6 separate regions of the Homo sapiens genome follow, and regions 1, 2, 3, 4 and 5 are each linked to region 6. The links are contacts of gene promoters, found by promoter capture Hi-C in blood cells and fetal thymus (Javierre and others, 2016). All regions are on one chromosome and are shown on one strand. Each heading gives the region's core, a stretch centred on a gene start or on the middle of the fragment in contact. The rest is flanking DNA. Distances are from core to core; before and after follow the strand shown. Region 1 overlaps WNT6 (Wnt family member 6). Region 2 has its middle 5.8 kb from the start of CDK5R2. Region 3 overlaps LINC01494 (long intergenic non-protein coding RNA 1494). Region 4 overlaps CFAP65 (cilia and flagella associated protein 65). Region 5 overlaps LINC01494 (long intergenic non-protein coding RNA 1494). Region 6 holds the start of DNAJB2 (DnaJ heat shock protein family (Hsp40) member B2).

Region 1 (4,755 bases), core at 132-2,631, 410 kb after region 6:
CCCATTGCAGTATTTGGACTGGAGGAAAGTTGGAGGCTCTGGGTCCTGGAAGTTGGGCTATGCCATCCCTCTTTCTCTCTGGAGGAAGATGAGAGCTCAAGCTTCAGCTCTGGAGAATCCAGAACTGCCCTCTGTCTCCTCACTTTCACCAGTAGCTTCCCAAGAGGAACCAGAAGGAAGGAAATATTGTTGGGTGTCAAGAGGTATGCATCAGAAGCTTCTGATGCCCCTGTCCCTTTAAAGAGGAATTGCTAGTTCTTCTCCAGCTTGCAGATCCAGGACCTAGATGTGTGACAGGAGTGAACAAGAAGAATGCCAAGGGGAGATAGCGAGTTTCCAGGAGAGGCCAACCTGGTCGGGAGATAGGGACCCAGGTGATAGCCCCTGAGGTGCTAGTTCTAGCAAAACCACCTTCTTCTGGAGCCTGGCAGCCTGAAGATCAGTCTCCCCCAAAACTGTGGGTCCAGCCCTGGTGGTTTAAATATCTTTATTGATACTAACCTCACCCACCATCCTGTGGCCAGCAGTTCTGGGGAGCCCAGTATCCAGAGGCCTTTAGACTGGCTTTTTTCCAGTCTAAAAAACTGTTTCCTCCTAGAGGCCAAGGGGAGGGAGGGCCTGTACAGTGTCCTTTAAACGCTCCCCGAGCGCCTTTTCGGGGCCGTCTGGCGCCCTGGGCCTTCGTGGGTGGGCGTTCCTCTCAAGCCCCTCGCCTCACCATTTCCAGAGCCCTGGGAGTTGGGCTTTGGCAGGGAGAGGCTGGGCTCGAGCGGCGAGAGGCGCCCGGTGCCGGTGCCCTGAGGTCCCACAGGTGCGAGCCACCGCTGCGCGAAGTCAGTCTAGCGGCCGGGCGGCGGGTCACAGGCAGAGGCTGAGCTCCTTGCGCACACGGCAGCGGTGGCACTGTACTACGCAGCACCAGTGGAAGCGGCACAGGCAGTTCTCTTCGAGCTGCACGCTCTCCTGGCGGTGCCCGCGGCCGCAGCACAGCAGGTCGCAGCCGCTGAGGTCCGGGGCGCTGCTATTGCAGGCGCGACCGCGCGTGCCGGGGGAGCCGGTGCGTCGGTTGGGGGCGCAGAAGTCGGGCGAATCGGCGGCGTAGAGGAGGTCCGCTCGGCCCGGCGGCTTGAGCGTGCGGACGGCGGGCAGCAGGGCCTTGCCGTCGTTGGTGCCCATGACGCGTGAGGCGCCGTGGAAGCGCTCCAGCAGCCGCGCGCCCACCTCGCGAAATGGAGGCAGCTTCTGCCAGCAGGTGCGCAGCGCGCATGATCCCGACAGCCCGTGGCATTTGCACTCGGTGCGCGTGTGGCTCCGCACGGCCTGCGGGAGGCAGAGGGGCGGACGCATGTGGACAGGTAGGGGGTGCAGGGAAGGGCCCAGCGGATGGACAGAAAATAAGATTGGGAATGGGAGGTGAAAGGAAGAGAGGAAAATGCAGACAAAAGGAGACCGCAAGTTCAGGGGGAGGAAATCAAGGAAAGGACAACTCGGAGGGGAGGAGCAGGAGGAATGGTGAGGATGGAGGAATATGATGATGACGAAGAGGGGAGACGGGGACAATATGCAGCGCAGAGATTCCAGGGTCCAAAGGCAGGGGGTGGGGGAGAAAGCAGAATGGACAGCAGGGGTGAGATTCTCTTTGGAGGAGGGGAGAGGTGGCAGCTGTCGAAGTCTAGCTCTCCTGCCTACCTGGCCCCCTCATTCCTACCCCTCACGGCCCCCAGGCCGGGCTGAGCACAGACGCAGAGCCAGCCTCCTGGGCATCTGTCTCCGTCACCCCTCCCCAACCCTCTCGGCAGGTATGTGGGCCTGTCCGGACATTCCTCTTCAGGCCCCCTCCTCCCCCTGCCCGATGCCTCAGGCCCGAACCCTAGAGGACACGGTATGTATGGCGATGTCCCTGGAGAACGCTAGAACGGAGGCATGGGGTGCAGGAGGGCCCGCTGGGAATGCAGTACTGAGAGTGGAACCCAGGCGGCCTCTCCCCTAGTCACTGTCTGAAGCAGGGTCTAAGATTCCCAAACCCACCAAGCGCTGATGGTTCAGAAGACCCAAGAAAATCATTTCTGGAAGCTCAGAGTCCAGGGGCTAACCTGACCATGTGTCCCACTCCCACCTCCTGAGTCTGCCCTGCCCCCTCCTGGAACCATCACACCCAGACAACCTTCTTGCCCCTGAATGAGAGCTCCTGGGGCTCTCCTCGTTACAGAGGGGAGAGGAGAGGCTGCCATGGCTCTGGGCAGGTGAGACCTGGGCTGGTGTTGCTGGGCAGCCAGTTGGCAAATGCCCAGAATTGGTCACAGCTGTCCTGGCCTCCACCTGACTCCCTCCAACCTCCACTAGGATTGGTTCCTTGTCCTTCGCTCTTTTCCATTGCCCCTCAGACCTGTTCTAACTCTTTCTAGGCCTCTCTCACTCCCCCTGGCTTCCCTGTACCAAAACCCCAGACCTTGCATTAGCTTCTATCCTGTCTTTCATCCCCACCTTTGTTTTATTCTCCTGCCCCTGCCTAGGCATCCAGACCTCCTACCCACTGCAAGCTTTGCTTCACCTGTCCTGTCTTGAAGCTGTGCCCTCTCTGCCTGGGGTCACTAAAGACCCTCAGTCCTATTCCCTGAGTGTCCCTTCCCCCATTCTGCCCGCTGTACCGTCCAGCATCTGGCCTTCTCAGACCCCCACGTGACTCCTTCTTGGAGGCTGGACACCTCTCCTCCCACATGTCCATCCATGCTTGCAGCCCATCTTTCCGCCCGTGCGCACTCCCCCACACATTAACGCCCCCCTCCACCTACACACCCTCACTCCTGCCAACACTTCCTCAAGCACACTCCTGCGCGCACACTCACATTTCCGCACACACTCACTCCATCCTGCCCGTACGCACCAGCCTGCCCGCCTCGTTGTTGTGCAGTTGCACCAACGCGCGGATGTCTCCGCGTCCCCGCTTGTGCCGCGCGTCCATAAAGAGCCTCGACTTCTCGTCCCCGAAGTCCACGTCGTCGCCGCAGCCTCCCCACTCCCAGGCGGCGCTGCCTTCCGGGGAGCCCGCGGGGCCAGGGGGTCCGGGGGTGCCGGGCAGGCCGGAGGGCCGGGGAGGGGCCCGCCCGCGGGGCGCCTGGCAGCCGCACTGCAGCAGCTCGCCCATAGAACAGGCCTGCGTGACGGCGTGGCTGGCGCCGGCCGCAGTGATGGCGAACACGAAGGCCGTCTCCCGAATGTCTGTGAATGCAGACAGGTGCAATCAGCGCGGGCTGGGGCGGTCAGCTGGGGCCTGGGACCTGAAACCTGCGGCGGGAGGGCTGCCCCAGGGGCCTGGGAGGCAGGGTCCTTGCAGGGTGCCCAGACACATGTGAGGGGGAAGTGGGGCTCAGGCAACTTCAGCGAACCAGTTCTCCTCTCCTCGGGTCCCACAGCAGGGAGAAAGCAGCCCCACTTCCGCCCCCTCCCCACACTGACCCTGTTGCAGGATGCGTCCAAAGGCCTTGCTGTGGCTGGAGCAATTCCAGCGGCGGAAGCGGAACTGGAACTGGCACTCTCGCACCCCGAGCCGGGCGCCCCGAGCTAGCTCTGCCACCACTTCCGGCTCAGCCTGGCACAACTCGGCCTGCCGCCCGGCCAGCCGCCGTGCCTTCCTGCAGATGCTGGTAGGGTCCATAACCAAGGGGCTGCCCACAGCCCTGGAAAGCAGAGAATAGCAGGTCAGGGGTGTAACCCAAAAAAGGGCTTGGGGTGGAAGGGAGGAGGACCAGCCCCACTCAGCCCGCAGCGGGAGCTGTGACATGCCCTCCCACCCTACCTCCAAACTGAGCTTGAGATTGTCCTGTCTGGCTCTCCTGCTAGTCCATGTCTGTGTCCCCTCTAACTAGAGTCTAGTCTGATAATTGCTACAGAGCAAAGATTCAATCTTATCTTCCTGCACACATCTTTGTAAATAAATTCTTATAGAAATTTTACTCAAGGTGAAGGCAGCTGGCATCAGGTAAGTCAAAGTTAAAACTCAAACTTCTAGCCCAAAAGGGTGACAAGGAAAAGAAATAACAGAAGAAAGATCAAGAAGGCCGTCAAGGAAATTCATGTGTCGTCAAGAGACACCAAAGAAAAGTAAGCAGTATCAAGGAATGATATGGTCCTAGTGGACCACAAGCTGGATATGTGTCAGCTGAACAGCCCGGATGAAAGGCAAGAACAATCCCAGGGAGAGAGAATGCCACGAGATGTTGGAACGGCTAGGGAATGGAGCCTAGCTGAGAAAAGTCACACCCTCTCCATAGCCCAGGTTTCTCCTTCTATAAAATGGGTGTGTTGGGCTTTCATCTCTAAGGTGGGCCCTCCTACCCTGATATCTTCTATGTCCCTGAACTGGAGAGCAGGAAGAAGGAGCTGGGGGCCAGGTCTCTGAAGCATTGTTGGAAAGTAGGTGACACTGACCCTTCTCTTGCTCCAGGATCTGTGGTTTTCGTTCTTTTTTTTTTTTTTTTTAATTGAGATGGAGTCTTGCTCTGTCACCCAGGCTGGAGTGCAGTGGCGGGCTCCCAGCTCACTGCAACCTCCACTGCCCAGGTTCAAGCGATTCTCATGCCTCAGCCTCCCAAATAGCTAGGACTACAGGTGTGCACCACCAGGCCTGGCTAATTTTTTTGTACTTTTAGTAGAGACAAGTTTCACCATGTTGGCCAAGCTGGTCTCAAACTCCTGACTTCAGGTGATCTGCCTGCCTCGGCTTCCCAAAGTGCTGGGATTACAGGCATGAGCCAC
Region 2 (5,087 bases), core at 997-3,496, 330 kb after region 6:
TGGACTAGAGGAGGATTCCTAAAGCCTCTTTCAACTCCACAGTTCTGATTCTAAACAAAATCTGTCCTGTGAATCTGTTTCACTCTCCAGCTCCAGCCCTGTCTGCTTCTCCCTAATCTGTTTCTGTCTGATGGGCTCAGTCTTTGTGTGCACAGCATCCATGTGAGGCCTGCACTTCTGCGGTTCACCCCAGGAGATGAAGGGGAGGGGAGCTTAGGCTCTCAGCAATGTAAATCTCCCTAGGTCCCTCCAAGCTTTAGAGGGGCCCCTGAAAGGTGAGAAGGCAAAGAAGAGGAGGGCAAGATGGCTGAGGCCCAGGATATCCCCAGTAAACATCAAAGGCCCCAGAAACCAAGGTCATTGCACCTCCCTGTAGGGGCCCCTACAAGGAGGCTAATGATGACACAGGTTCTTAAAACAGCCAGGATGGAGACCCAGCCTGGGCATCTGAGTGCCTGGATCCTGCTGCCCCCCCCCCCACCCTGGCACCCCCAACTCCCTTGCCCATCAGTCTCAGCTCCTGAGGTGTGCAGAGGGGGTGGGTATGCACGAGCCCAGACTTCTCTCCCTCTCCTGAGGACCTTACCCCAGGGGAGAAGTGGGTGGCTAAAACAAAGGAGGGGAGCAGAACCCCTCTACAGATAACAGTGGAGGGGGGAGGGGGTAAGCAGAGAGAAGAGAGGAATTGACAGAGGAGGTGCTGCTAGCTGTCAGGAGGGAGACCCAAATTCTCATGTCTTCCCATTTCGCAGGCTGTTTGCTAGAAGGACTTAATTAAGGAGCCCAAATATAGTTTCTTTTGAACAGTGAATAGGGCTGGGAGCACAGATGAGGAATGTGATGCTCTGGGGTGGGGAGAGAAGGGACCAATGCTGAGATGCTGGAGGGCCCAGGGTGAAGGGGACAGAGAAGACAGGGGTGAGCTGGTGACTCCTTTTCCCTGCCTTAAGCTCTGCTGCTTTCCTTGATGGAAGGGGGGCCATTTCTTCCTTTCCCATCCTCTGTCCTGATCTCCCTCCAACTCCCTGGCTCCTGCCTTCACCTCCTTTACTGTCCCCTGAGAACAGCTCTCTCTGTCCAGTCCTCCCAGCACTCACCAGAAGCTTTAAGTCTTGGTTCACCTTCTGCCTCCACCAAGCCCCCTTTTTGCCTCCTCCCTTTCGTCCCCCACTCCTTCTCCTCCCAGGCCCCGCTGGCGCCCAGCATAGCACTACAGATGTAGGAGCAGATCAAGAAGGGTGGGGGTGGTAGCTGTTGCTTTTCTGGGATATTCTTAGCCTGTCTGGGGGCTGGAGCTGGAATCAGCGTTTCCATCTCAACCAGGCAGGTGGCTGCCAGAAACTGCCACTGTGACTGGGTCTTCATCTGGTTCCATATCCCTTATCCTGTCCCTTCCTCCTCTATATTGATTTCATCGATGAACACAGACCCTCTGAGAGTCCAGCCTTCCCACCCTTGTGCCCTAGATGGAAGGTTTCCTCTGCCTATCAGGCATAGCCCCAGGAAGGTGTGCAAACCTCACTGGAGGCTCTGCGGGGAAAGAAGGGCCTTCGAGAACTCTAGCTCAGATGCTCCCTAGAGTGGAACACAGCCCTCTCCTCTCTGCCCCCAGGCCCTCTTCTTTCATCTGCCCCCAGCAACCCCTGCATGGTACTCAGTCCCCAGACTGTATTCACCACCATGAAGGCCTTTCTTATCTTGATTTACAGGAATCACTCAGGGGCCCTAGAGTTTCAGAAGCTGCCTCCTGAAAGCGGCTGAACCCTGGAGTCCAGGCCTCCTTTGGGCCAGAACAAGGGGCTCACTGACCCAGATCTCTCCCCACATCTTTTTTTTTTTGAGACAAAGTCTCACTCTTTTGCCCAGGCTAGAGTGCAGTGGCATGATCTTCACTCATTCCTGGGCTCAAGGGATCCTCCCACCTCAGCCTCCCAAGTAGTTGGGACCACAGGCATGCATCACCAGGCCTGGCTAATTTTTGTACTTTTTGTAGAGATGGAGTTTCACCATGCTGCCCAGGCTGGTCTCTAACTCCTGGGCTCAAGCAGTCTGCCCACCTCAGCCTCAAAGTGTTAGGATTACAGGCATGAGCCACCTCGCCCAGCCTTCTCAGATGCCCTTATCAGTAGAGGGAGGGGCAAAGAAGAAATCTCACTCATTCACAAATCGCACAAAAAATGTTTGTCACCTTAAGAGGGACAGACAGTGCAGGGTCTCCTATGTGGGTTCTGAGGTCATTCGGTCTATGTTCAAATCCAGCCCCTCCACTTATGACCTGGGGCCCTTGGGGCAAGTTTCTTAATTCTTCTGAGGTCTATAAAAGTGGACCATACAAGGTGCAGTAGGAAGAGATCACCATCCACAGTCGGGCTGAGGCTGAAAGCACGTACCAGATCAAGTATGAGGAGCTGCAGACGCTGGCTGGGAAGCATGGGGATGACCTGCGTTGTGCAAAGACAGATCTCCGAGATGAACCAGAACATCAGCAGGCTCCAGGCTGAGACTGAGGGCCTCAAAGGCCAGGGGGCTTCCCTGGAGGCCGCCATCGCAGATGCCGAGCAGTGGGGGGAGCTGGCCATTAAAGATGCCAACACCAAGCTGTCTGAGCTGGAGGCCGCCATGCAGCGGGCCAAGCAGGACATGGCACGCAGCTGGGTGAGTACCAGAAGCTGGCCCTGGACATCGAGATCGCCACCTACAGGAAGCTGCTGGAGGGCGAGGAGAGCCGTCTGGAGTCTGGGATGCAGAACGTGAGTATCCATAAGAAGACCACCAGTGGCTATGCAGGTGGTCTGAGCTCAGCCTATGGGGGCCTCACAAGCCCTTGGCCTCAGCTACAGCCTGGGCTCCAGCTTTGGCTCTGGCGCCGGCTCCAGCTCCTTCAGCTGCACCAGCTCCACCAGGGCCATGGTTGGGGAGATCGAGACCCACAATGGGAAATGGGAAGCTGGTGTCCGAGTCCTCTGACGTCCTGCCCAAGTGAATAGCTGTGGCAGCCCCTCCCAGCCTGCCCCTTCTGTGGCTGCCCCAGAGTCCGGGAGGGAGGCCACTGTGCAGGGGAGCACAGGGAATGGGAGACCCACCTGAGGCTCAGCCCTAGCCCTCAGCCCACCTGCAGGGGAGTTTACTGCGTGGGACACCTCCTTTGCCCATATCTCCAGCTACAAAACAATTCCGTTTTTTCCCCCCAAAATAAAACTTCAGCTAGTTCTACCAACTGGCAAAAAAAAAAAAAAAAAATGGACTATCATCATAAGGTTGTAAGATTTTATTTAATCATGCAATGCTCAACAATGCTTGTATATCACATGTGCATGGTGTTCATAAATGTTAATTGTTAACAAATTATACTGTCATCATTATTTTTACAGAGCAGGAGGAAAGCTTTGCCTGACCCGTGCCATTAGCATTTTTTTTCTCATTAGAACATTTTTCATTAAAGGGCCAGGGTGGTACTATCATTTCTTTTTGTTTGGTTTCTGAAACCCAAATTTATATCTGTGCTTTCCTCTCAGATACTGTGCTCATACCCACTGCTACTCAGACTGTTCCTGGGGGTGGTTTGATTTGCTTCCTAGGGTCATAAAGACCGACAGCATATTAGGCACTGGTCCCCTTTTCTGGTCCTGTTGCAGGCCACTTTAATTTTCTGAAGCTCTGAATATTAATTCTGGGCCAGGTTCCATGCTGGCCCCAAGTCCTGACCGTGCTTTCTGGGAGCTGTACTCTGGCTACTCATTCCACACCCCATGGTCTCCCCAAAGCTCCAGAGACTCTATGGAGAGTCAATTCTGCTTTTCAAGGGCTTTGAGGAAAATGTTCAATAAGATTATTAAACCACATGAGCAGATACTATTTGAGAAACTGTAGCCTACACAGTACTGGGCTAGGTGGTGGGAACACAAAAAGGTGTGAGGTAGGGCTCCAGCCTTCAAAGAATGTACAGCATAGGTGGCAGAGATATGAAAAATAGTGAGAAATAGCAATAAAATGATGTGTCCTAGGGCCAGTTACAGATAATGGGATTTGATGACTCGGCTAATCCTGCCCGCCCCCCTCCACCTTCCACCATCACAGCTAATCCATCTCCAGCTTGTCCTAAATTCATATGCACACAGAGTTAGAATCCATTTTTTTTTTTTTTTTTTGAGACGTAGTTTCGCTCTTGTTGGCCAGGCTGGAATGCTATGGCGTGATCTCGGCTCACCGCAACCTCCACTTCCCAGGTTCTAGCGATTCTCCTGCCTCGGCCTCCCGAGTAGCTGGGATTACAGGTATGTGCCACCATGCCTGGCTAACTTATTGTATTTTTAGTAGAGATGGGGTTTCACCGTGTTAGCCAGGATGGTCTCGATCTTCCGACCTCAGGTGATCTGCCTGCCTTGGCCTCCCAAAGTGTTGGGATTACAGACGTGAGCCACCGTGTCCGGCCAGAATTCATTTTTAACTGGGGTCTGGCTCCTGCACCTGGAACTGTGTTTGCTCCAGTGCATGGCCTTCCTTGTCCAACCCCAGGCTGTGATGATAAGCACTGTTCCCAAGGTAGAACCAGGCCTCAGCAACCCCCTGCTCACAGTGACAAAGGGTCCTACCCCCTCTGCATGATAAGGGTTATGAGTAACTTCTGTGTGAAGATCGTGGTAGGTCTGCTTACTGCTCCGACGTCTTAGACAGGGGCCTTTTGTTGACTTCCTATTTGTCCAGAATTGGGGGCGGGTGGGGGATGGGCTTCAAAGCAGGTTCATTAATTTACACTTGCCTCTGTCTGGTTCCTAAATATAAAGACAATTCTTTATGTTGACCTCCTTTGAGTAAAAAGACATTCCTAATTTATAAGCTAGAGCCCCACATATACTTGCTTTTGAGTAGGGAGCAGAGGCGGGTAAGGTCGTCCACTAGATTACTGGGTCCTAAACTACTCTGCCCAGCAGAACCACCTGGGGAATTTTGTAAACATATAATTTCCGGGCTCTACCTCAGACCTATGGAATCATAATTTCTTTTTTTTTTTTTTTAGGCGGAGTTTCATTCTTGTTGCCCAGGCTGGAGTGCAATGGCATGATCTTGGCTCACCACAACCTCTGCCT
Region 3 (4,980 bases), core at 156-2,655, 370 kb after region 6:
TACATTCCAGAGAGAGGGAAACATGGACCACAGAGGGGCTGTTTCCATTTTCTATTACTGAGTAACAAACCGCTCCAAAATTCAGTGGCTTAAAAATAACCATTTACATCCCACAGTCCTGTGGGTTGACTACAGTCAGCTGGGCAGTTCTCACGTGGGGTCTCTCAAGCAGTTCAGTTAGATGGTGGCTAAGGCTGGAGTCATCTGAAGGCTCAACTCGGCTGGATATCCAAGATGACTTTTTAAAAATTTATTTATTTATTTATTTATTTTTGAAGACACAGCCTCACTTCGTCACCCAGGCTGGACTGTAGTGGCGCAATCTCACTCACTGCAACCTCCACCTCCCAGGTTCAAGTGATTCTCATGCCTCAGCCTCCCGAGAAGCTGGGACTACAGGCATGTGCCACTATGTCTGGCTAATTTTTTGTATTTTTAGTAGAGATGGGGTTTCGCCATGTTGGCCAGGATGGTCTTGAACTCCTGGCCTCAAGTTATCCGCCTGCCTCGGCCTCCCAAAGTGCTGAGATTACAGGTGTGAACCACTGAGCCCAGCCCCAAGATGACTTTTTAAAGTCACATGTCTGGCACCTCATCTGAATTGGCTGGAACTGAAGGGGCCTGCCCAGGCATTACTCTCTCTATACAGCCTTCCCATGTGGCTTGTTTCGGGTTCCTCATAGCATGGTAGTCTCTGGGTAGACAGACCTCATACACGGTGATTGGCTTGCCCCAGAGTGAACATTCCGAGCGACTGAGGCAAAAACTGCAAAGCTTCCTATTCCCTCTCTTCAGCAGTCATGCAGCTTCGCTTCCACAGCACACTCAGTGAAAAGGAAGCATGGACTGGCCCTTTCAAGGGGAGGGGACAATACACAGGTGTGAAGCATGATTCAAGGCGGACCACCTTTGGGGCCCAGCTATTACAGGGGCTGAGGCAGGAAAGGACTGCTCAGGGAACTGCACACAGTCATGCTTCAGTGGAACATGGTGTGGAAGTGAGAAAAAACTGGAGATGATCGTTTGTGGCATATGGTGGAGGGCTTCAATGCTCAGGAACCTGCATATGGATACACACTGGAGTCTTTAGCTGCCCAGCATCTGAGCCCCCTTCATATGTTGGTGGAGCCTCCCTAATGTGAGTCTTAGTGAGAAGTCAGATACTTGCTCACCTGGCCCCTAGCAGGAAGATCACAGCCAAATCAATGCTCCCAGTCAGGACTCTAAATCTTCAACAAGTGACCCAAGGAGGAAGAGGACTGTTTATAATTCATCCCAGAGGTGGCAGCAGCAAGTGCTCAGGGTGGTGGTAGCCATGTGGGAAGCAGCCCCCAAGCCCCTTAATCAGGCTGCACTTGGGACAGGATTTAGCTAAAGTTCTAGCTGCCTAGCTTCTCTTGGCTCCTGCTTGCTTCCTGAGCCTGATTCTTGAGGCTTCCTGTCAATTCTTTGAGTTCCCTGATGTCATCCCAGTAAATTCCTCTTCTACTAAGTGAACCAGAGTCTGTTTCTGTTGTTTGCAATTAAGAACCCAAATTGGTACAAAGATCCATTGAGAGCTTTAGTCAGAGGAAATGACATGATCAGAGCACTTCGTGGGAGAGAAAAACAGAACAATAGGATAGGGATGGATTGAAGAGGAAGAAAGAGGAATGACAGAGGCTAGTTGGAAGGTCGTTGTGATGTTTGAGGTGTGTGGTGAACTAGGATATTGACCATGTGAATGAAGTGGAAGAATAAGCAGATCTTGGCCACTGATTGAATATAGAAAGGAGAAGAGAAGGTGAGAGTCCAAGTTTACACCAGTTTTGAGGTTCAGTGACTAAGAAAATGATGATGTGACAAAGAGAAACAAGCAAGTTAAGGAGAACTGGTTTGGAGGGGAAAGTCATTCATTCACTTATTCAACAAATATTAAATGCCTGGTCTATGCCAAGCACTGTGCTAGGCATTGAGAAAAGAACAGTAAACAAAACAAAGTCTCAGCCCTTAGCAAATACATACATAAGATAATGAATCTGCATTAATAAAGCTTGAGCCGGGCATGGTGGCTCACGCCTGTAATCCCAGCACTTTGGGAGGCTGAGGTAGGTGGATCACTTGGGGTCAGAAGTTCAAGACCAGCCTGGCCAACATAGTGAAACCCCATCTCTACTAAAAATACAAAAAATGAGCTGGGCGTGGTGGCAGGCCACCTGTAATCCCAGCCACTCAGGAGGCTGATGCAGGAGAATTGCTTGAACCTGGGAGGCAGAGGAGTCAGAGGTTGCTGTGAGCTGAGATGGCGCCATTGCACTCCAGCCTGGGTGACAGAGCAGGACTCTGTCTCAAAAATAAAATAAAATAAAATAAAGCTTGAGTGGGTGGTATCACAGGCATACATTAAAACATGTCTAGCTGGCAGCTGGAACTTCAAGAAAGATCACAGGAGACCAGGTGTGGTGGCTCACACCTGTAATCCCAGCACTTTGGGAGGCCAAGATGGGTGGATCACCTGAGGTCAGGAATTCAAGACCTGCCTGGCCAACATGGCGAAACCCTGTCTCTACTAAAATACAAAAATTAGCCCGGCATGGTGGTGCACACCTGTAATACCAGCTACTCAGGAGGCTAAGGCAGGAGAATTGCTTGAACCCAGGAGGCAGAGGTTGCAGTAAGCTGAAATCACACCACTGCATTCCAGCTTGGGTGACAGAGCGAGACTCTGTCTCAAAAGAAAAAAAAAGAAAGATCATAGGAAGGAAGTTTGGGCCTGAAGACAGAAGTTAGTAGTGATTTCTGTAGACATTTATTTATTTATTCATTCATTCACTTATATTTATTGAGTTCCTACTATGTACTTAATACCATTCTTGGCATTAGAAATACAGCAAAAAACAACAGAGTCTCAGTTCTCGTAGAGTTTCCATTATAGAGTGTGGAAGCAGAGCATAAAGAAATACACAAATATGGTCAAATATGTGATCTATACTATGAAGAAAAATAAAGCAAGGTAAAGGTAAGAGGAAGTTTGCTATGTTATACAGGATGTTCTGCCAAGGCTCCTCTTTTCTATGTTTATTTTGTGTGGGTTTTTTTTTCTTTTTTGAGACAGGGTCTTGCCCTGTCAATCAGGCTGGAGTACAGTGGCTTGATCATAGCTCAATGTAGACTTGAACTCCTGGGATCAAGTGATCCTCCCGCCTCAGTCTTTCAAAGCACTGGGATTCCAGGCATGAGGCACCATACAAGGCCCCTCTCATAAGGAGATATTTCAGTGAGGTCCTGAATGAAGGAAGACAACATTCATGCGGTTATCTGGAGGAAACCGATTTCAGGCAGAGGGAGGAGGTGCAAAGGCCCTGAGGCAAGACAGTGTTTGGATTGCTCAAGGAATTTGCAGGAGGCCAGTGTGGCTAAAGTAAAGTGGATGAGAGAGAGTTGGAGGAGAAAATGAGGTGAAAGAGGTAGCAGGGAGCCAATCCTATCACGCCTTGTAAGTCATGGTGACCTGTAAGTCTCAGCTCACTGCAACCTCCCCCTCCCGGGTTCAAGAGATTCTCCTGCCTCAGCCTCCCGAGTAGCTGGGACTACAGGTGCACATCACCACGCCCGGCTAATTTGTACTTAGTACTTTGGCTCTTGTCCTGTGTAAGATAGAAAGACTTTAGAGACTTTTGAGCAGAGGAGGCACATCACATGACTGACACTTTAGAAGGATCACTTGGGCTGCTGGGTATAGAATAGACTGGGGTTGTGTAATGGCAGAATCAAGGGGAGCAACTAGGAGACAGTTGTAGTCAATTAAGCCAAGAGATGATGATAGCGTGGACCATGAAGGAATGATGGAGGAAGTGACATGTGATCAGACTTTAAATAGAAACTGATGGGGAACTAACACGATCTGCCAATGGGTTTGATGACTCTAGGATTTTTTTTAACGGGGATAGCTGGAAAAGCATTTGCCATTTACTGAATAGAGAGGATTAAGAAGTACATCTAAAGCTCCAAGAATGGCCAGGCGCAGTGGCTCACGTCTGTAATCCCAGCGCTTTGGGAGGCCAAGGCAAGTGGATCACTAGAGCTCAGGAGTTCAAGACCAGCCTGGGCAGCATAGTGAAACACCCGTCTCTATAAAAAATACAAAAATTAGCCAGGGGTGATGGTGCACACCTGTAGTCTCAGCTACTTGGGGGACTAAGGCAGGAGAATTTCTTGAACCCAGGAAGTCAAGGGTGCAGTGAGCTGTGTTTGCAATAAATGCACTCCAGGCTGGGCAAAAAGTGAGACCCTGTCTTAAAATAAATAAATAAATAAATAAAGCTCCAAGAATAGTGAAACTGTTTCCAGCCTTCCTGCCTGCCTGCTGGTCTTTCTTTTTGAATAATTTCACTCAAAAGCCATAACATAGAGCCAAGCAAGACAAGGCACCCATGCAGGGGCAGAGGGGACATTGGGCTGGCATAGGTTATGAGAGCCCAAGATGGAACAAGACAGTGTCTGCAAGAGGAGTGGAGGGAGCAGCAGCAGTGACAATGAACCAGTTACTTACAAAGGATTAATCCAATAAGAAGAAAGAGAGAAGTTACAAAAATCGAAAAGGAGAAAACAAAAATAAGCCCTGTGGTGTTTGATTGGAATCAAAGGTGAACTCATTGTTTTTTACATGGAAAGATCAATAGATAGATGATAGATAGATAGATAGATAGATAGATAGATAGATAGATAGATAGATAGATGGATAGATACATAGATACATAGTAGACATAAATGTGTGTATAATAATACATATATTTCCTAGGACTGTCCACTGAGAGGTCTGGAAACAATGACACTCCAGGAACAATGACACTCCAGAAACAATGACACTCCAGGAACAATGACACTCCAGAAACAATGACACTCCAGGAACAATGAGCACATCTAGCACCCAGATCTTGGCTTCTACACATCATTCTCTATTAAAAGAAAGAAGCATCCCTTGGAGCAATGGCTGATTCC
Region 4 (5,060 bases), core at 2,525-5,024, 270 kb after region 6:
GAAAAAAGTAAGAAGCTCCGCAGCCCCCTCTCCAAGTCCAGCTGCTAGGGTGATGAGGATTCGGAATGTGCCTTTCACACTCAGCATTTGCACAACATACAGACACGCACATATTTACAGAGCGGTTCTCTTTCCTTTTTTTTTACAGTAATGGCCCAATACTATATCTGTTACTTTCAGGAATAATGATGCTTTCACTCAGCATTATATCAATAACATCTCCTTTAGATCAATACATATATCTAACGCATTCTTTTAAATAGCTGTATAATATGCCACAATATGGATGGACTTTAAATCGTTAAATCACTCCTCTATTGGAAACTCCAATTGTTCCCAGCTGCTTTTTTTTCATGACCACTACAAAGAAAGTGGTGATAGACATCCACACAAAGGTGTGCGTTGCGTGCACATAAGCATGCACACATATGTGCTTTTATTCCTATGAATTGGTTTCCCAAACAGACACTTCTGGGTCAAAGGGCATAAGCTGCCAAACTTCCGTCCAAGAGGTTGAGCAGTTCCCTCTCCACCCACCTATGTTTGAGTCTGTTCTTTCTGAACTTACCAGTGTTGAATATTACTATTCTTCATGCTTCAGATGTGAAAAAAGTTAAGACTGGTTCCTTCTGAGGGTTTGGACTTAGGCCTCCCTGACTCCTACTGAGGCTTCCAGGCCCGTGTTGCACGCTTTCTCTCAGGTGTGCGTTGTGTGCTTTCTCTCAGGTGTGTGTTGCGTGCCTTCTTTCAGGTGCGTGTTGCACACTTCCCGTCAGGTGTGTGCTGCGTGCATTCTCCTCAGGTGTGTGTTGCACGCGTTCTCCTTAGGTGTGTGTTGCGCACATTCTCCTCAGGTGTGTGTTGTGCACTTCCTCTCAAGTGTGTGTTGTGTGCATTCTCCTCAGGTGTGTGTTGTGTGCTTTCTCTCAGGTGTGTGTTGCACGCGTTCTCCTCAGGTGTGTGTTGCACGCATTCTCCTCAGGTGTGTGTTGCGTGCATTCTCCTCAGGTGTGTGTTGCACGCTTCCTCTCAGGTGTGTGTTGTGCGCATTCTCCTCGGGTGTGTGTTGTGCATTTTCTCTCAGGTTGCTTTTGTGCGCTTTCTCTCAGGTGTGTGTTGCATGCATTCTCCTCAGGTGTGTGTTGCGTGCTTCCTCTCAGGTGTGTGTTGCATGCATTCTCCTCAGGTGTGTGTTGCGTGCTCTCAGGTATGCGTTGCACACTTCCTCTCAGGTGTTTGTTGCGCGCATTCTCTTCGGGTGTGTGTTGCGCACTTTCAGGTGTGTGTTGCGTGCTTTCTCTCAGGTGTGTGTTGCGTGCTTTCTCTCAGGTGCGCGTTGCGTGCTTTCTCTCAGGTGTGCGTTGTGCGCTTTCTCTCAGGTGTGTGTTGGGCACTTTCTTTTCCTTTTCTGGATGCTCCCTATCGTATCCTCCACCCGGTTTGCAGCTGGAACCAGTTCTGTGCCATCTCCGAGAGTGAAATGGGTTCTCCTTTCAGATTGTGACCTCAGGACCCTTTGTCACTAGTTTTGTCGGCTACTTAAGGTGCATTATCTACTTTACCGCAGTCCTAGGCATGTCAGGGGCATTAACTCTGTGCACAGCCTTGCTTCTGTTTCAAGAGTGCCAGCCCTGCTGGGGCATCTGTTCTCCACCCTGTGCCCAAGTTGGCCTGGACACCCCACTCCCTGGGGCTGCTGGTTGGTGCTGCCAGCCTTCCTAGGTGTCCCAAATGGCCCTTTCCCAAGAGCTTTGTCACAGAAGGGTTCATGGCCAGCTCAAAGTGGCCCCCATATTCAAGCAACACCTTGACTCCTGGCATCCACAGTGGGAGCCCCACTCTTCACTTCTTGAGTCGCCGTGGCCCAGAGTCTGTTCCTGGGTTTTGGGGCCATTATGAAACGAGAATCCACAACAGCCACATTTGCTCAGGCACACATGGGACAGTTTGCCAAATGGGTGCATGAAGTGCGGGAGTCATGGAAGAAGCCTCCACCTGCCCATCAGGGTCTCAGAGCCCCTGCCTCTCTGTTCTGCCTGACCAGTTTCTTTGTATGGCTTTGCACCCCTCTCCCAGGGCCTTCCTCCTTCCAAGTGACCAGCGGATTGACGTGGAGCTCTGGGCAGAGCAAGCAGAGTTGAATTCCACTGAGCTCCACCAGATGCGCGTGCAGGACAATTGCCTCTTCTCCATCAGCCCCAAGGCTGGGAGCCTGAGTCCTGGGCAGGAGCAGATGGTGGAGTTAAAATACAGGTGTTCCCCACCCCCCAAACCCCCTGCACTTCCAGTCATAGAGGCCCCTACCCCGGGCATTTCATTGTATGACTCCAGGGCACCCCAAATGGCCATTCCCTGGGAGGACCACCTTCTCACCTGCAGAGGAGGTCTAATTTCCTTCTTGCCCCATCCCAACTCAAGGGCGAGTTGCTCCCAGGGGCTGGCCAGCTCAAAGCCACAGAAATGTCATGTCCATTTGCTCTCCTACTTGTACCAGGGCTCCAGAACTCACTCCCAGACTTATCTGTTTCTTTCTAGCCACCTGTTCATCGGTACTGATCACCTCCCAGTGCTCTTCAAGGTGTCCCATGGCCGGGAGATCCTGGTGAGGCCCCAGCACACTGGCCCTGCCCTAGTTTCAGGCTGGAGGAGGGGGCTGGCTGGACAGGAGCAGGGAGCTGTGTTCTCCTGGGGAACTGGGGTCCAGATCTCCACTGGCTGTGTCAGTTCCTCCGGGGGAACTTTTATTTCCAGCTAAATTTCATAGGTGTGACAGTGAAGCCGGAGCAGAAGTATGTGCACTTCACCTCTACTACCCACCAGTTCATCCCCATTCCCATTGGTGACACGCTACCCCCACGGCAGGTCAGTGGTCCACATTGTCCTGTTGACCAAGAAGGCCTAAGTGTTGATCTCTAGGTATGAGTGTCAGCCCTTGAGAGGGTGACAAAGACATGGCCCTCTGGAAGCATTGAGGGGCTGGGCCAGCAGGTTGAACCCCCAGACTGGGCAACTGGGAGAGACTTGAAGGGAGAGGCTGCAGTGTCCTAGTTCCTGGTGCTAAGCCCTTTGCCAGGCCCAGTTCCAATTAAAAAATGAGGATTTTTTTTTCCTTTAGCAAAATGTTCTTCAAACTTCTTTGACCATGAACCATACTAATATATTTGATGTTATATATGCTTACACCCCAGTATATACATAAACATACAACCAAAGTAGAATTACTGCAAATTGATAATTATACTACTACATGCAAAGTATACTGATATTTTCTTTTTTGTTCTATTCTGTCCAATTTTTTAAATGCTGGGCATGACCCACAACATTGATTTAGATCTGCTCACCAGTAGGTCTTAGCCACAATTTGAAAATCACTGCTCCAAAAAGGATGTCCTTCTGGAATGTGAAGAACTAGAATGTGAATTCTTGGGAAGCTTTAGACCTTTCTTTCTTTACTGATTGAAGGCAATACAGTTTCCTTGCTCTGGAAATGTAGATTGGTAATCTCCAAGAGGGGGACATAATATTTTCCCAAACATTTCACAGCTGTGCAATTTCTAATCATTTAGAAGCCCATGTGTTTCTGAGCAGGGGCCTCCAGCCATTCACCCTAGAGGCCAAGGAATGGGCTTCCTGGATCTAGAGGGGAGTTTCCTATCCCCAACTCTGTTCACTTCCATACCCACCCGCTACCCCTCTGCCTTCCCAGCAGCCCCACTAGGGTCTGTGACAGTGAAGCTGGTTTGAGCTACTGGGAATACATAGTGCCATTTGCTAAAAGGAGATAAACTGGGAGCAGGAATAGGCTTTAGAATGAAGAGTTTGGTTCTGGCCAAGTTTGAGATGCTAATGAGACAACCAAGAGGGCTTGTCAGGTAGAAGGTGGACACCAAGTGTCTTAGTCCATTCTGGCTGCTAAAACAAGTTACCATAGATTGGGTGGCTTATAAAGACCACAAATTTATTATAATTTATTGTAATTTAATTTATTATAATTTATCTTAATTAAAAAGGCTGGGGAGCCCAAGATCAAGACATGGGCAGGTTTGGTGGGGGCCCACTTCCTGGTTCAGTGGCTTCTTGCTGTGTCCTCACATGGTGGAGGGAGCAAACAAGCTTCCACAGGCCTCTTTTATAAGGGCACTAATCCCACTTGTGAGGGCTCCGCCCTTGTGGCCGAATCACCTCCTGATCATCTCTTAATACTATTGTATTGAGGATTAGGTTTCAACATATGGATTTTGTGGGGACACAAGCATTTAACCCATAGTACCAGGTCTGGAGCTCAAAGGGTGGTCCAGGCTAGAGAAATAGAGTCAGCATGCTCAGGAGTGAGTGCTCAGAAAGGGGAAAAGGGGCTGGGACTGAATCCAGATGGACTCTATTCTCTCTGGCTTCAATTTTCTCATCTCTAAAAGGAAGGATTGGATCAGAAGATCTCTGGTTTCTTCTAGGACATTCTATGATTCCCAACCTTTGGAGTTGGTCTTTAGTCCCTCAGACTTTTCCGCCCCCTTACTTGCCTTTAAGCAGAACTCCCTTGGCCAGGCGCAGTGGCTCAAGCCTGTAATCCCAGTAATATGGGAGGCCAAGGTGGGAGGATTGCTTGAGGCCACGAGTTCAAGACCAGCCTGGCCAACACAGTGAGAACCCCATCTCTAAAAAATATATATATTTTTGAAGCAGCTGTGTGTGGTAGTGCATGCCTGTGGTCCTAGCTACTTGGCAGGCTGAGGTAGAAAGATTGCTTGAGCCCAGGAGGTCAAGGCGGCAGTGAGCCATGATTATGCCACTGTATTCCAGCCTGGGTGACAAAGTGAGACCTTGTCTCAAAAAAAAAAAAAAAAAAAAAAGAAAGAAAAAGAAAAAAAACTTGATGAAGTTAAACTGAAGACAAATAAAATAAGCTACTCCTTTACAAATAAGATTACAGATTATCCTAAAATATCACCGGCTGACCATACAGTTACATACTTCTCGAGTGATCAAGCCACACGGGAGCTCACAGACTCAAAGGGTGACATCATGGAGATCAGCCTGCCCTCCCACAGTGGGCACAGCAT
Region 5 (4,833 bases), core at 1,075-3,574, 360 kb after region 6:
AGGGCCACCGTCCTCCAAACCCCAGAATGGTACATCCACTGACAGCTTGCACCATGTGCCCAGAAAAGCCACAGGCACTCAATGCCAGCCCATGAAAGCAGCTATGGGGGCTGTACCCTGCAGAGCCACAGAGGCAAAACTTCCCAAGGCCTTGGGAGCCCACCTCTTGCATCAGCATGCCCTGGATGTGAGACATGGAGTCAAAGGAGATTATTTTGGAGGTTTAAGATTTAATGACTTCCAGCCAGGGACAGTGGCTCACGCCTGTAATCCTAGTACTTTGGGAGGCCGAGATGGGTGGATTGCCTGAGTTCAGGAGTTCAAGAACAGCCTGGGTAACACGGTGAAACCCTGTCTCTAATAAAATACAAAAAATTAGCTGGGCATGTCAGCATGTGCCTGTAGTCCCAGCTACTCGGGAGGCTAAGGCAGGAGAATTGCTTGAACCCAGAAGGTGGAGGTTGCAGTGAGCCAAGATAGCACCACTGCACTCCACCCTGGGTGACAGAGCAAGACTCTGTCTCCAAAAAAAAAAAAAAAAAAAAAGATTTAATGACTTCCTTGCCAGGTTTTGATCTTGCATAGGACCTGTAGTCCCTTGGTTTTGGCCAATTTCCCCCTTTGCAATGGGAGCATTTACCTAATTCCTGTATTTCCATTGTATCTTGGAAGTTACTAACTTGTTTTTTATTTTACAGGCTCATAGGCGGAAGGGGCTTGCCTTGTCTCAGATGAGACTTTGGACTTAGACTTTTGAGTTAATGCTGGAATGAGTTAAGACTTTGGGGGACTGTTGGGAAGGCATGCTTGGCTTTGAAATGTGATGACATGAGATTTTGGAGGGGCCAGGGGTGGAATGATATGGTTTGGCTCTGTCCTCACCCAAATCTCATTTCGAATTGTAATCCCCACATGTGGGGGGAGGGGCCTGGTGGCAGGTGATTGAATCATTGGGGTGGAGTTCCCGCTTGCTATTCTTGTGAGAGTGAGTTCTCACAAGATCTGGTTGTTCAAAAGTGTGTGGCACTTCCCTCTTCACTCTCGCTCTTTCCTGCTCCACCACGGTAAGACATGCTTGATTCCCCTAACCCCTCCACCACAATTGTAAGTTACCAGCCATGCTTCCTGTTAAGCCTGTGGAAATGTGAGGAAATTAAACCTCTTTTCTTCATAAATTACTCAGTCTCAGGTAGTTCTTTATAGTTAAAATGGATTAATATATCATGTGTTGATGAAGTTCCTGTTATTCCCTCCTTACCCTCCTACGTGGATTATCTAAAGATATTTATTTCACTCCCACAAAAATGTTTTGTTCTCACCCATTCCCGAGAGCTGAAAGTAGGCTGTGGGAACTTTGAGTGAGAAAATAAGAGCAGCCTACTCCCCCTGACCATATTCCTGCCTGATGGCCAGTATTTGGGTGACACTTCACCCTGCCACCAATTTTTTGAGTCCTATTTCCCACAGACTCTGTGTTAGTCCATTCTTGTGCTGCTATAAAGAAATACCTGAGACTAGGTAATTTATAAAGAAAACAGGCTTTGATTTGGCTCACGTTTCTGCAGGCTGTACAGGAAGCATGGTGCCAGCATCAGCTTCTTGTGAAGGCCTCAGGAAGCTTTCAATCATGGCACAAAGTGAAGGGGAGCCAGCACATCACATGGTGAAGAGAGGGCGCAAAAGAGAGAAGGGGGAGGTCTCAGATTCTTTTAAACAACCAGTTCTCATGTGAACTAACTGGGAGAGAACATCACCAAGAAATGGTGCTAAGCCATTTGTGAAGGATCCACCCCCATGATCAAATCACCTCCCACCAGGTCTCACCTCTAACAGTGACGGTTACATTTCAACATGAGATTTGAAGAGGACAAACACCCCAAACATAACAGACTCACTTGTGACTTTGCCCTGTAAACTTTCAGGGAAAATGAGGTCACTTCTGACCCAGAGACTCTGTCATCTTACCCTCTCCTGGGGGTCTTCATCTAAAGAAGTAAGTGTAAATTCCTTACTGATCCAGTTTTGTATGTGTATGTGTGTGTATACACAAAATTTACTATATAGAAAGTAAATTCTTCTACTATATATATGCATTATATATATACACATTATAATGTATATATATAATGTATATATAAATATATATAATTGTGTGTGTGTGTGTGTGTGTGTATATATATATATATATATACAGTAGAAGAATTCAGAGGTGTTAGAAATTATGAAGAGGGGCCAGGCACGGTGGCTCACGCCTGTAATCCCAGCACTTTGGGAGGCCAAGGCGGGCGGATCACGAGGTCAGGAGATCGAGACCATCCTGGCTAATGCGGTGAAACCCAGTCTCTACTAAAAATACAAATATTAGCCAGGCGTGGTGGCGGGTGCCTGTAGTCCCAGCTACTCGGGAGGCTGAGGCAGGAGAATGGCATGAACCCAGGAGGCAGAGCTTGCAGTGAGCTGAGATCATGCCACTGCACTCCAGCCTGGGCGACAGAGCGAGACTCCATCTCAAAAAAAAAAAAAAAGAAAGAAATTATGAAGAGGATTATAAGATAACTACCACAGAAGGCAGGTGGAAGTGGTCTCTGTGGAGAAGGAAGAATTGGGGAAGAGCCCACAAGGAACACACGAGACCATCGTTATATTTGTTTCTCACCCTGAGTAGTGGGTACACAGATGTTCACTGGACTATTAATCTTTAAAATGTACATATATATTTAACACATTGAAGTGTACATGATGGATTTCATAATTTTTTTAAAGTAAAATATTGTGAAAGGGAAGGGAAGGAAGGAAAGGAAGGCAAATGAAAGGAAAAGAAAGGAAGAAAGAAAGAAGGAGGGAGGATGGGAGGAAGAAAGAAAACTGGATTTGTTAATAGGAAAGAATATATCAATGTCAAATCCCCATTCTAGGCTAGCATTATTCAGCATCCAGAAGGATCATCTCAACAATTACTCAGTGGATCAGCTTATTTAATTGATGACTGTACAGTTAATTCATGCTCAAAAATCAAACATTCTAAGCTTCTTTCTATGAATATCTTCCAGACCAAGATTATTCATCTCATGGTTTTAAAGGACAGAATTTCCTGGAGAATGTTGGTCCTCTTGTAGGTGCTACTGCAGCAAAGTTGAAACAATCATACGTCAGACCAAAATACAAGTCAGTTCTTCAGTTTTCACTAATTAAAATTAACTCTGTCTAAATAAATCAACTCTTACCACCTTCAGGATTCATATCTCAAGTAAGAGACATTCTTACTGACCAATAACACAAAATATCCCACCCTCAGCACTAGGATCCTCAGTTTTGAATTCTTTCAACCATTTTTGTCAAAAGCCTTGCTGTAGCCAGGTGTGGTGGCACATTCCTGTAATCTCAGCTACTCGGGAGGCTGAGGAGGGCAGATCCATTGTCCCTAGGAGTTGAAGGCCAGCCTGGGCAACATAGCAAGACTCTGTCTCAAAAAAAAAAAAAATACATGACAACAATAACATGAAAGCCAGGAGAATGCTAAAATGAATTAAAGTGTCATAAGGTCCCTAGAGTTATTTAGAAAAGGGTGAAAGTACTAATTCAAGGGTGACCTAATTAAGCCAAGGATGCATGCTATAATATGTGGGTAATAAAATAACAATAATAGCAAACACGTGACTACTAATTTATAGAGGATGAAAATGAAATAATTAGGAAAATATTGATTGATCCAAAAGAAGGCAAGAAAGAGGTAAAAAGAAACAAAAAACAGATGTGAAAAATGGAAAAAAATGGCAAAATGGTATACTTTAAACCCTACAGTATCAGTAATTACCATAATATAAATCAATTAAAGGCAAAGATTTTCAGACTGGACAAGAAAAAAAAAACAACTATATGCTGTTATAGAAGACACACCTTAAACATAAGGATGCATAAAGGTTGGAAATAAAGGGATTTTTGGCCAGGTGTGGTGGCTCATGCCTGTAATCCTAGCACTTTGGGAGGCTGAGGTGGGTGGATCACCTGAGGTTAAGAGTTCAAGACCAGCCTGGCCAACATGGTGAAACCCCATCTCTACTAAGTATACGAAAATTAGCCGGGTGTGGTGGCACACGCCTGTTATCCTAGCTACTTGGGAGGCTGAGGCATGAGAAACACTTGAACCCGGGAGGTGGAGGTTGCAGTGAGCTGAGATTGTGCCACTGCACTCCAGCCTGGGCAACAGAGCGAGACTCTGGAAAGAAAGAAAAGAAGGAAGGGGAGGGGAGGGGAGAGGAAGGGGAGGGGAAGGGAAGGGAAGGGGAAGGGGAAGGGGAAAGGGAAGAGAGAAAGAGAAAGAAGGAAAGAAAGGAAAGGAAGGAAGGAAGAAAGAAAGAAAAAGAAAGAGAAAGAAAGAAAGAAAGAAAGAAAGAAAGAAAGAAAGAAAGAAAGAAAGAAAGAAAAGAAAGCGATTTTTTTAAAAAAAGAAAAAAAATAAGTCATGAAAACACCAAAAGGAAGCTGGTGTATCTGTACTGGTATCATAAACATAAGGAAAAAAGTATTGCTAGAGATAATGAGAGACATTTCATAATAACGAAAGGGAAATTTTAATAGGAAAATATAAAATCCTAACTATATATGCAATTAAAAACAGCCTCAAAACATAAAAGTAATAACTGACAGGTCTAAAAGGAAAAAGAGAAATCCATAATAATAGTTGGAAATTTTTTAACATATAGCTCTCAATAACTGGTAGAATAAGTAGACAAGAAATCAACATTAGGATATAGGAGATTTTGAATAACATGATTAACAAAACTGATCTAGATGACATATAATTATCATACCCAATAGCTGCAGAATGCCATC
Region 6 (5,053 bases), core at 1-2,500:
TTTTGTCTGGGTGCCACTGGAGAGCCTTGCGCCGATACCTGCAGAAAGTGGGTGCAGAGGAGAGAGTCGGGGGACAAATGCAGGCACTTCCCACCCAGGAACCGAACGACCTGTTTTCCCATTAGCCTATCACTGTCCTTTCACCCCCGGGTCCCAGTCCACCCCAGCTGCTAGGGCTGCCGCTGCTGTGATATTTTCATCAAGTTCCACCCTCTCTCCTCCGCCACCAGTGCTGGGACCACATGTACAAGCGGATACAATGCCAGGGTCCCTAGCCCCTCCCTAGGGCTCACTGGACTGGGGCTGCAAAGGTTGGGGCACATGTGGCCTCGAAGAGTACAGGGACACCGGCCCCTCCTCCTCATAGAGCCTCTTTGCACTGCATCTTTGCACTGCAGCCTGAGAATGCCCAAATCTAGGGGGAAGGGGGAGGGGAGGGGAAAGGAGGAGGAGGAGGAGGAGGAGGGGAAGATCAACTGGAGAACAACCCATAACACAGTGCAGCTCCCAGAGGAACTAACTACTTCACTCTCTGGACGTTCTCCTTGTACTCTACCAGGGGTCTCTTTCCTCCCTGCAGGTGTCACTCGGAAGAAGCACCCCAGTGCTTTCTAACGACCTGGTTCCCTCAGACACCTACAGGTGTCACTCTGAAGTGCCCCATGGTGGTGGCGGGTGGAGGGTGAGAGGTCTTCTGTTGCATACGGAGGCACTTACGCCTTCTTGATGTCATCAGCGGACGCACTTCGCGGCACGTCTAGGATCTCGTAGTAGGATGCCATGGCAACTGGTCAGTCGTCAGGCGGGCCTCCTTGGGGCTGCAGAAGAGAAGGAGTCAGGCGGAAAGAACCAAGAGCCCCACCCTGTGGCTGCAGCAGTCCCCCTCCCCGGGTGGCGGAAGGCGCTCCCAGTTGGAAGCGGAGCACACCGGGCTCTGCTTGCGGCCGGTGACTAGGCTCCCTCCGGCAGCCTTATCTGCCCCCGCAGGCCGGGGCCAAGAGCTATCTCGACGCCCAGGCCCAGGAGCCCTATCGGGGCCCCCCAACTCCAGCAGTCCGATCCAGGGCCCCCAGCCTGACCCGGGCCCCCGGCCGCACCTCCTCCGCCAGGAGTCCCGGCCTCCTGCGGCGCCCCGCCCCTGCCCCCCGCCGGGAACCGTCTGGCACCCGCAGCCCGGCTCGCGGCTGCTGCGTAGGACGCGCCCGGCCCAGCTGTGCGCGCAGGCATGCGTCAGCGGTGCGGAAACTACTAGAGACGGGGAGAAGGCCGGCTCCGCCTGTCCCCTGGGGGGGTGGGGGCCTGCAGGGGCTGCCGGGAGAAGAGGGCGGAGCCGGCTATTTTGGGCACACACCAGGACGACGTCAGCCCCAGCTGGGACCTGGGAGACTGCGGCCCCGCCTCCATCCAAGCGAGAAGCGCTCGCACGGAGGCTGGGGCAGCCCACAAACAAGCCGCTCGGCCCCCAGGTTCCTCTGTCACTTTCTTATAAACATGAGCGATGATCCATGCTTACTCACCCACCTCGAGGACTCAGACTCTTCCCTCCCTCCCCCCACCACGGTTCTAACTCCTCCCCCTTCTTCAGCTCCCAGCTCCAGCCCCAGGTCCCCCAGCAGGCTGCCCTGGCTTTCCTGAGTAGGTCAGAACTGCCTTTTACAGCATCTCGTGGCATTTCCTTCATCAGGCTTGTTAGAGCCACAAATTAGCATTTATTGGTTTGATTATTTTTTATTACCATTCACCTCCCCCACTAGAATGTCGATTTCACAGGACAGGAATTGTGTGTTTTTTCTCACTGGTCTATTAGAGCAGTCGTAGGGGTTCAAAACTACCCGTGGGATGAATAAATAATGAACACCTGCAAACCTCTTGTTGACAGTTTTGACACATTTGGGGGAGGTGAGGTAAAGGGGGCCGTACAACGGAATTCCCCAGGTTCAAGTCTTCCCAAACTGATCCTGAGTAGGCCTATTCCACTTCAAAATGCTCCCTGGGTTCAGGCCTCATTGGAGAGTTAGGAAACCTTCCAGAACTGGCTCCTGCTTGATCCCATCCAGGCCAATCCAAAGGCGTTAGCTGAGCATTTTTCTGCATTCAAGATGCTGCCAGGCCGTATAAAGAAGAATGTGGCCCAAGCCCTGCCTTTGCAGAGCTTGAACTTGATAAGATACCAGCCCATCAGTGTAGCCCGCTGGGAAACCCGAGGCTTTGGAAACAGAGTACAACCTGGCATTACTGTGAGACTTGGGAAAATCTCTGAGCACTCTTTTTTTCTCACTAAATATAGGTAGTGCCTAGGGTTGTTTGAAAGTCAAATGAGACATGGTACGAATTAGGTGTTACTGCGGTCCTGCTGGCATCGTGATTGGCTCAAGCAATAATGGTTATGTGAGTCCAGAAAAGTGCTTTAGGCTGGGGGACCCAGGAATACTTCGCCAACGAGAAGGGTTTGAGGCGGACGTGAGAGAAGAAGGTGGTGTGAGTGTCCTGGTTTCCTGGCTGCCCACCATCAGAACCTCCTGCCTACATTTGGGGAATTCCCATCGCAAGGGCCCTAATGGAAAGCAGGCCACCATTTGCCACAAAGCCCCAATGCTTGCTCTCCCTGACTCGGCTCTGGGGTTGCAGGCAGAAGACATGAGCTCCGCCAATCGGATGCTCCAACTGGGACTTTGAATCTGGAGCAAGTCACGGAATAGCAAGGCTGGTTTAGGAATTCATTTCTGCGGCGGCGGTGGAGGCGATGGGGCCAACAGCGGCCTCTAGTGTCTGGAGGAGGAAGTGTCAGCGCTACTGCCGCAGGTGAGGGACGAGAGTAGGAGGATCACTGCGGAGGGTGGAGGGGACAGGAGTCTCCTACACAGGCTGTCCTGTGCCCAACCTTGACTGTGGTACTGGCTGCCCAGCTTCCCTAGGTGCCTGTCTGATTGCTGACCCTTGTTTGCTGGCCCTTGCATTGATTCTGTGTGCTATCCGATATCTCTATAATTGTTGGGGGCAGGGGACTTGAAACAATTTGCCAGTTAGCTTCTGCTGTTTATAAGAGTCCTGACTGACACAAAGACTAAGGGTTAGACTTGGTATAAGAGGAAGGAGTGGTTGGGTTAAGTCACTCCAAATTTTCCAGATCTCTGCCTTTTTCTTCTTACTCTGCTGTGCCAACAGACATTTGTCTAGCACCTACCGTGTATGTCTTGTTATATTAAGAAAAAGAATATAAAAAAGTTTAAATTCCAATCTCTGTGCTCAAGGGGATAGGACATAGACAAATGACAACTGAGGGAAATTATATGGAGCACATCTAGCAGACAAAGGTTTAATTTCCTTTGTCCACAAAGAAATGCCAACTAATGAAAGACAATGACATTTTTAAATGGACAAAGGGACAGGCAGCTCACAGAAGAGGAAATACTGGCTTTTAAACAAATGAAAAGATGCTCAATCTCATTCACAAAAAAACTGTAAACTAAAGCTACGACAGGCCAGGCATGGTGGCTCATGCCTGTAATCCCAGCACTTTGGGAGGCCAAGGCGGGTAGATCACCTGAGGTCAGGAGTTTCAGATCAGCCTGGCCAATATGGTGAAACCCTGTCTCTACCAAAAATACAAAAAGTAGCCAGGCGTGGTGGCACATGCCTGTAATCCCAGCTACTCGGCAGGCTGAGACGGGAAAATCACTTGAACCCGGGAGGCGGAGGTTGCAGTGAGCCAAGATCGTGCCATTGCACTCCAGCCTGGGCAACAAGAGTGAAACTCCATCTCAAATAATAATAATTTTTAAAAGAATAATAATAATAAAGCTACAACAAAATACTTTGGGGTTTTGTTTTTTGAGATGGAGTCTTGCTCTGTCATCCAGGCTCCAGTGCAGTGGCACTATCTTGGCTCACTGCAACCTCCCAGGTTCAAGCAATTCCCCTGCCTCAGCCTCCCAAGTAGCTGGGATTACAGGCATGTGCCACCACCCCTGGCTAATTTTTGTATTTTTTGTAGAGATGGGGTTTCACCATGTTGGCCAGACTGGTCTCAAACTCCTGGCCTCAGATGATCCTCCTGCCTCAGCCTCCCAAAGTGCTGGGACTATAGGCCAGAGCCACTGCACCCGGGCACATGGCCCTAACAAAATACTTTGTTTCACTTATTGGATGATTGACAAAGACAAAAAAAAGAAAAAAGTTGAATACATTGTATGGGCAAGGCTGAGGGCACAGGCATTCTTATAGATTGGTAGTGGGAGGGTGGGTAATTTGATGTGACTTTTTTTTTTTTTTTTTTTTTGAGGCAGAGTTTCACTCTTATTGCCCAGGCTGGAGTGCAATGGTGCAATCTTGGCTCACGGCAACCTCTGCCTCCCGGGTTCAAGCAGTTCTCCTGCCTCAGCCTCCCAAGTAGCTGGGATTGCAGGCGTGAGCCGCCGTGCCCGGCCTGGTGTGACTTTTAAAGAGAGCAAGATTTAAAATGCATAATCTTTGACCCAGAAATCTCAATTCTAAGAATGTATGGTCATATATATGTGCAAAAAAAATACATACAAGGGTTGCAGCATTCTTTTTAATAGCAAAAGATTGGAAACAATCTAAATACCCGTTAATAGCAGACTGGTAAAACAAGTGTTGGTATGCTATACGATGGAATATTATATTGTGACCAAATAGAATGAGGCATAGCTAACAGTATTCATATGGACCATCTTCCAGATTTATTATTAACTGAAAAAACAAGGTGTAGAACAAAGTGTATACTAAATGTGCATACAAGCATGGTAGTACAGATGGAGCATCCCTACTCCAAAAACCCAAAATGTGAAATGTTCAAAAATTCAAAACTTTTTGAGTACCTGACATGATGCCACAAGTGGAAAATTCCATACCTGACCTTATATACACAAACTGTTTCATGCACAAAATTATTTAAAACATAGGCTGGGCTCAATGGCTCAGGCCTATAATCCCAGCACTTTGGGAGGCCGAGGCGGGAGGATCACCTGAAGTCTGGAGGATCACCTGAGGTCAGGAGTTTGAGACCAGCCTGGCCAACATGGTGAAACCCTGT

The links. Contacts are between HindIII fragments. The CHiCAGO score rates a contact against its expected background, and 5 or more counts as called.
Region 1: a fragment that was not itself captured here is called in contact with the fragment with the promoter of DNAJB2 in region 6 in 5 of 17 cell types (activated CD4 T cells, total CD8 T cells, naive B cells and 2 more); the score reaches 6.7 in activated CD4 T cells.
Region 2: a fragment that was not itself captured here is called in contact with the fragment with the promoter of DNAJB2 in region 6 in 1 of 17 cell types (M2 macrophages); the score reaches 5.9 in M2 macrophages.
Region 3: a contact is called between a fragment that was not itself captured here and the fragment with the promoter of DNAJB2 in region 6, in 6 of 17 cell types (total B cells, naive CD4 T cells, naive B cells and 3 more). The highest score is 8.3, in total B cells.
Region 4: a fragment that was not itself captured here is called in contact with the fragment with the promoter of DNAJB2 in region 6 in 8 of 17 cell types (M2 macrophages, naive CD4 T cells, total B cells and 5 more); the score reaches 8.5 in M2 macrophages.
Region 5: a fragment that was not itself captured here is called in contact with the fragment with the promoter of DNAJB2 in region 6 in 1 of 17 cell types (M0 macrophages); the score reaches 5.1 in M0 macrophages.

Annotation. Positions count from the first base shown.
Region 1 is chr2:218,869,949-218,874,703 of GRCh38, reverse strand. WNT6 (Wnt family member 6) reads right to left here. Exons shown (of 4, transcript NM_006522.4): 2 at 3,457-3,677; 3 at 2,885-3,219; 4 at 471-1,320. The coding sequence ends at 859. It also overlaps a transcript of WNT10A not described here. Among named protein-coding and RNA genes, the nearest start is that of WNT10A, 8.5 kb to the left of the region's middle. RefSeq lists an enhancer at 2,103-3,049 and a silencer at 3,128-3,197. The HindIII fragment of the contact is 2,323 bases long and covers 220-2,542 here.
Region 2 is chr2:218,951,297-218,956,383 of GRCh38, reverse strand. It overlaps the pseudogene KRT8P30. Among named protein-coding and RNA genes, the nearest start is that of CDK5R2, 5.8 kb to the left of the region's middle. The HindIII fragment of the contact is 2,281 bases long and covers 1,106-3,386 here.
Region 3 is chr2:218,900,972-218,905,951 of GRCh38, reverse strand. It overlaps LINC01494 (long intergenic non-protein coding RNA 1494), which reads left to right. Exons shown (of 5, transcript NR_110238.1): 5 at 4,781-4,980. Among named protein-coding and RNA genes, the nearest start is that of WNT10A, 23 kb to the right of the region's middle. The HindIII fragment of the contact is 1,258 bases long and covers 777-2,034 here.
Region 4 is chr2:219,011,061-219,016,120 of GRCh38, reverse strand. CFAP65 (cilia and flagella associated protein 65) reads left to right here. Exons shown (of 35, transcript NM_194302.4): 22 at 2,077-2,253; 23 at 2,536-2,602; 24 at 2,752-2,862. It overlaps CFAP65-AS1 (CFAP65 antisense RNA 1), which reads right to left. Exons shown (of 3, transcript NR_046086.1): 3 at 399-2,219. Among named protein-coding and RNA genes, the nearest start is that of CFAP65-AS1, 11 kb to the right of the region's middle. The HindIII fragment of the contact is 682 bases long and covers 3,434-4,115 here.
Region 5 is chr2:218,918,850-218,923,682 of GRCh38, reverse strand. It overlaps LINC01494 (long intergenic non-protein coding RNA 1494), which reads left to right. Exons shown (of 5, transcript NR_110238.1): 3 at 1,923-1,993. It overlaps LOC124906119 (a long non-coding RNA gene), which reads right to left. Exons shown (of 2, transcript XR_007088090.1): 2 at 2,959-3,122. Among named protein-coding and RNA genes, the nearest start is that of LINC01494, 9.4 kb to the left of the region's middle. The HindIII fragment of the contact is 1,408 bases long and covers 1,621-3,028 here.
Region 6 is chr2:219,275,563-219,280,615 of GRCh38, reverse strand. It overlaps DNAJB2 (DnaJ heat shock protein family (Hsp40) member B2), which reads right to left and starts at 1,250. Exons shown (of 9, transcript NM_006736.6): 1 at 1,098-1,250; 2 at 718-818; 3 at 1-38. The coding sequence starts at 782. RefSeq lists silencers at 926-1,405, 2,647-2,849 and an enhancer at 2,426-3,130. The HindIII fragment of the contact is 26,435 bases long and covers 1-5,053 here.